Regions from separate parts of the Homo sapiens genome. Here region 1 is linked to region 2. Evidence: promoter capture Hi-C in 16 types of primary human blood cells and fetal thymus (Javierre and others, 2016). All regions are on one chromosome and are shown on one strand. The core of a region is centred on a gene start or on the middle of the fragment in contact, and the rest is flanking DNA. Distances in the headings are between cores, read along the strand shown.

The links. Contacts are between HindIII fragments. The CHiCAGO score rates a contact against its expected background, and 5 or more counts as called.
Region 1: a fragment that was not itself captured here is called in contact with the fragment with the promoter of KIF21B in region 2 in 2 of 17 cell types (naive CD8 T cells and naive CD4 T cells); the score reaches 5.6 in naive CD8 T cells.

The regions. Positions count from the first base shown.
Region 1 is chr1:201,156,860-201,159,559 of GRCh38, reverse strand. It overlaps a transcript of TMEM9 not described here. Among named protein-coding and RNA genes, the nearest start is that of TMEM9, 3.7 kb to the right of the region's middle. The HindIII fragment of the contact is 1,590 bases long and covers 539-2,128 here.
Region 2 is chr1:201,022,307-201,025,006 of GRCh38, reverse strand. KIF21B (kinesin family member 21B) reads left to right here and starts at 1,293. Exons shown (of 35, transcript NM_001252102.2): 1 at 1,293-1,664. The coding sequence starts at 1,624. LOC101929305 (a long non-coding RNA gene) reads right to left here and starts at 1,058. Exons shown (of 4, transcript NR_188464.1): 1 at 922-1,058. RefSeq lists silencers at 568-725, 1,077-1,436, 1,837-1,886 and an enhancer at 2,491-2,700. The HindIII fragment of the contact is 1,958 bases long and covers 856-2,700 here.

The DNA of each region.
Region 1 (2,700 bases), core at 84-2,583, 130 kb before region 2:
GCTTAAGTGTTGCTTTAGTCAAGTGGTGTTGAGAGAGCTGTGTGTGTGTGTGTGTGTGTGTGTGTGTGTGTGTGTATAAAAAGGCAAATGTGGGGACCCCAGCCAAAAACAGCGTGCTTGTCCAGGGCCTTGCCCAGCTAGAAAAGGGTACTACACAGCAGGGCGCTCTCTGCCCTTAGCTCAGTGCCCCCATTTCCCTGATGCCTGAGAAATCCTGCTGTGGCCAGAGAGGTAAGAGGTACTCAGGTATCTGAGGATGGTGCCCATACTATTTTAAGGACATCGTCAGGCACCTGACCTGCCATCTGTGGCTAGAGGGCAATGTCCTATAAGAGGTGGGTCAAGCGCTCCTTTGTACCCCCACATTACTGCCCCTTTGAGAGTGTTAACACATATCTGTATTCTATCACTTGAGCTTTGTTCTCTGTTTAGGTTGGATGATCTTTTAGTGTGTCTAAGACATGGTTGCTAATGCAAAAATTAGGAAGTCAATCATCTCATAGGAGCTTGAGGTTATGAGACACTGGACAGATAAGCTTCAGTGGGGATTAGAGGAAAAGCAGGGGCATATAGTTGATGCCAGGGAGAGTAGACACCATTTGGGAGTGATGACAGCACTCATCCCCTATCCAGGAGCACCAACGGTAGGGACAGGGAGTGAGGAAGAACCCAGACCCACAGCTGTGGCACGGATGCCAAGACCTCGCCTCATAAAGTCAAACTGATTTTAGGGTTGTTGGATAAAAGCAGGTATGAACTAGAGGGTATGGGTTTTGGCCTGAGTTCTAGAGCTCCAAACTTGGAGGCAGGATGAAGGCTAAGTCCTGAGAGGAAGCAGTGGAAGGCTCCAGAGCTTCCTTAGGCCTCCTCTGCTGGGGAGAGTGCACTGCTGATGTTACCTGGTCTCCACCCTCTCACTGAGCCCCGAGCCAGGGGCTCCCGGCTCCCTCCTGGCTCACATTCTGACTCTGATGTCACTGAGCTCCCTGCCTTCCTTTCCCATTCGCTTGTCCTGGGATCAAGACAAACTGAACTGTTGACTCTTTCTCTACATGTCTCTCCCTGAACTTCCCCAGTCCCATCTCTTTGCTCTCCCTACACTGCCCCTGCCCCCGCCCCCACCCCCCACCAGAATGCCCTCCTCACCATCACCCTGCTCTTGAATTGTGCCTCAAATTTTGCCCACCCTTCCTGGCAGTATTTGTTTCCCATGGCTGCTGTCACAAATTACCATAAACCTGGTGGCTTCAAACAACACGAATGTATTATCTGACAGCTCTGTAGGCCATAAGTCTGACGGAGGTGTTCTCTTGAACTAAAATCAGGGTGTCTACAGGGCTGCATTCCTTCTAGAAGCTCTAGGGAAGAATGCATTGGCTGGCCTTGACCAGCTTCTGCAGCACCCACAGTCCTTGCCTGGTGGCCCCCTGCCTGCATCTTTGAAGCCAGCAGCATAGCATCTCTCTGACCCTACTTCCATGTCCATCTCCTTCTCTAACCACAGCCAGAAAAGGTTCCTCTGTTAAGGAGCCATCTAATTAGATTGGGCCCACCTGAATAATCCAAGCCACTCTCCCCAACCAAGGGCCTTAATTTATATTTGCAAAGTGCCTTTTACTGTGTAAGACAGTATTCACAAGTTCCAGGGATTAGGATGTGGACATTTGGGGGTGCGACATTGTTCTGCCCACCACTCTGGCCCAGCCCAAGTAGCCCTCACTGCCCTCAAAGCCCCCTCTCCACCATTCTGGGCTCCCCTGGCCCTTGGTCTAGGTTTCCCAAGTGCCTCTGCAGCCTTCCCCCAGCACAGCTCTTACCACCCTGAATTGTCATTGCTTGTTGATTTGTGGTTTTCTTGCAATAAACTTCAAGTTCTGTGGGAACAGGGACAGGGTTTGTCTTGTTTACTGAGATATCCCCAGCACCTAGCACAGTGCTCAAAAAATTTTTGAAGGGAAAAAGCATTTCTGATACGGGAGATAGAAATTATTTAGGCAGATAGCAAGGACAAAAAAGTCCTTGGCAGAACTTCCCTTCTAATAAGAAGCAGCCCTAGAAATCATTTCTTTTCTAACACAGAGCAGCCTCAAAGATTGGGCTGCAAACATATATAAGGAAGCTGGAAGCTTGCACGGAGGAATGCTGGCAGCTGCACTCATAGAAAAGGGCTACCGGGGGGCCAGGCATGTTCACCATGGGACTCCACCTTCCCTTTTTTGTTAGCACATGTACAGTAAGAAAGAACTGGGCAACATGGAGAAGCTCAGGCAGAGAAACCACCTGCATAATAAAGATTGGGCTGGGAGCTGCCAGAGATTTGTGCCCTATGCAGATGGCACACCTGGTGCTAACTTTTTTTGAGATGCCCTGTATAGATGAGATACTGCCTCCCCACTAGCTCATCTATAAAACCCCCTGCATTTCACCTTAAATTGGCAACTCATTTTTCCAGGACCCCTCTCTGTAGCAGAGAGCTATTGTCTTTCTTTCACCTATTAAATTTCCACTCTTAACCTCACTCTTTGTGTGTCTACCTCCTTGATCTTCATGGCCAGGAGACAACAAACCTCAAGTGTCACCACAGACAACAAGGCTGCTTCACTTCTACAACACATCACTTTCTATGTTACATTCTGACCATGTGATTGGTCTGCTATTAGGTTGTGCATTACTTGAAAGCAGAGTTGCATGTGATTTGTC
Region 2 (2,700 bases), core at 44-2,543:
CAGGGATCTGAGCTACTGCATGAAGCAGTTATTGGCGGGGAGGGGGGTGTGAGTGGAGGAGGGAAGGGGAGGAAGATGGTACCAACAGATGCATCCTCAGACCCCAGTCCACACCCTTGCCAAAATCTCTGACATGGTTTCATCATCTGAGGGTAATGTAAGAGGCCTGGAGTCAGACTCCCCTTCCTCCCCTCCCCCAGAGATCCCCATCCACATCTGGGGCTGCAGCTGGGTCCTCCTCTTGGGCCCTTTCCAGGGGAGGGAGCTGGGTGAAGTGAGGGCAGCTGGTGAGGGGCCCTGTGAATGGCCCCAATGTTGGGAGGCAGGGGGCAGGGAAGAGGCGTCTGGGCTCAGAGGGAGGGAGATGGACTGGGAAGGGAATTGTGACTTTGCAGCACTGGTCTCCTCCTCCATCCAGGCCCAGCGTTAAAGTCTCCATGGTCCTCCTTGTCCTTTATACCCATTCCTGCAGGCAGCTGCCCTCCTTCCCTTCCCCACCCACTTCACCGCCCAGCCTCTCTACCCAGGTGCTCGGAACTGAGGGCCCCCTTTGTTCCCTCCTTTCCCCCAGGGCAGCTCAGGCCTCCCACACTGACCCTCTGGCCCCACAGCCACAACAAGCAGAGTGTGAGCCAGGCCCAGTGGGGTCATCTGTGGGTCATAAAGGTCAATGGGACAGTCGTCTAGCAGTAGGGAGGGGCTAGTCTTGGGCTAGGAGCCTGGCCAGGAATCAACTAAAACATGAGCTTTAAGATGCTGCAGGGTGGAGGTGGGGGAAATTTTAGTTAGGGGCTAGCAAGAACTCCCTTCGAGAAGGGTTGGCGAATTTACTGGAATAAATGCAGAAGGGAAGCTTTCCTGGCTCTTTTGAACTATAAACCGTCAATCGCTGTGGGATCCCCGGGAGACCAGGGTTCTTACCATGCTTACCCACGAACTCGCTCTGTAACCTTCGGTAGTTCCCCTCTTTGAATCTCAGTTTCTTCATTTATGAAATGAGGGTCCCATTGAAGCCGAGGTTCTGCTACTCCAGGAGCCGAGGTTCTAACGTGGTCTGCGTCCAGCGCCCCCACCCCTACTCCCACCCCTACCCCCACCCCCACCCTTCAATCCCGCCCCCTACCCCCAGCCACCCCGTGGCCGCGAGCCAAGAGGTCCCTTTAAAGGCGCGAGTCCCGCCCCCACTGCTCATTAGGGCTTTCGATTGGCGGCTCCTGGGCGGGGCGGGGCCCGGCCTGGGCTCGGGGCTGGCTCGGGGCGGGCTCGGGGCCGGATCGGCCCCCGCCCCCTTTGTTCGCGCTGCGGCGGGAGGTGGCTGCCGGGTGGGAGGTGTGTGCGCGTGTGCCGCGCCGTAGGGAGCGGCGGGTCGCGCCGCCGGCTGTCAGCTAGCTCCGCGCCGCCGCCCGATGGCGCGAGGAGGCGCGCGGGCCCAGCCCCGGGGGGCCGGCCGCGGGTGAGCCCCTCGGCCTGCCGCCCGCGAGCATGTCACCTCCAGCCGCCGCCGCCGCAGCCTCCGCCAGCCGCGCCCGCGCCCCCGCCTCCCGCAGCCGCAGCCGCTGCCTCGGGCATTGGCCCCCAGACCCCCGCCTCTGATCCACGCCCAGACCCTAGCTCCAGAGGGCCATGGCCGGCCAGGGGGACTGCTGCGTCAAGGTGGCCGTCAGGTAGGGACCCGGGGCGGGGAAGGGGGCGCGCGGAGAAGCCTCGGGCTTTGTCTCGCGTGGGCTTTGGGCGGGGGGCGCGAGCACCGCTTGGGCTGGAGCCTGCACTCCCGGAGGAGGGGCCGGCGTGGGACGGGATGGAGGGCGCCGCGCGCTGGCCAGTCTGCCGCAGGGGAGCGGCGACCCCGCCGACTACTGGAAGGTGGCTTTGTTTGGGTGGTAATTTTGGGCCCCTCTTGGGAGCCCTTAATGATCAGAAAATCGAATAAACAAGGAAATCCGGTATTTCACACCCAGCTCTGGCCCAGGCCGGAGCGTCTGTGCGTTTCCTCTTCGCCTCCCCACGAGGCTGCTGTCTCATACGGGGATACCAGAGAGGGAAATTTCCCCTCATCCATGCGAGTCAGCTAGTTATGTGCTCTTGGTCCAGCTAGCAAAGGCAGCACACCCACCCTGGGAGCCAGATCTGCAGACAAAGATCGGGTGCGGGGACCAACGGAAAAGCTGGGATGATGCCTTGGCCTTCTGTGGGAAGTCAATGGCTTTGGGGGAGAATCCTACCAGTCCTGTCCCAAGAGGAGATGGGCCTAGGAAGGGAGGAAGAGGTGTATCTGAGGTGCTTCTCTCTGAGAGGGCAGGAGGGTGTGATGCAGATGCCCCATCCTCAGGCACTCAGATAAAATTGAGCAGGGGAGGGTTGCCTAGACTTATCTGGGGTTCCATTCTCAACAGCTCCGGGACTTGAGCCGGCAGAAATGAGACAGGGAGAGGACATGGCTGGGTGGGTTCTATTGGGAGGGGTACACAAAGGTGCAGGAGCAGGAAATGCTGTGAAATTGAGCCATCTGTGTTCTTTGTGCTGGGTGGAGATGCTTCACACCTCACCACTTCTCCCAGTTTTTGCTTTGGGTTTTTCTCTTTGAGAGGGGTGTCTTGGCGGCAGAGTGCCAATCTGGAGCTGCTCACCAAGGTAGGGATGTGGCAAGAACATCTATCTCTGCCCCAGCCCTGTATGATGGAGGGGGCGGGGGATTGTCCA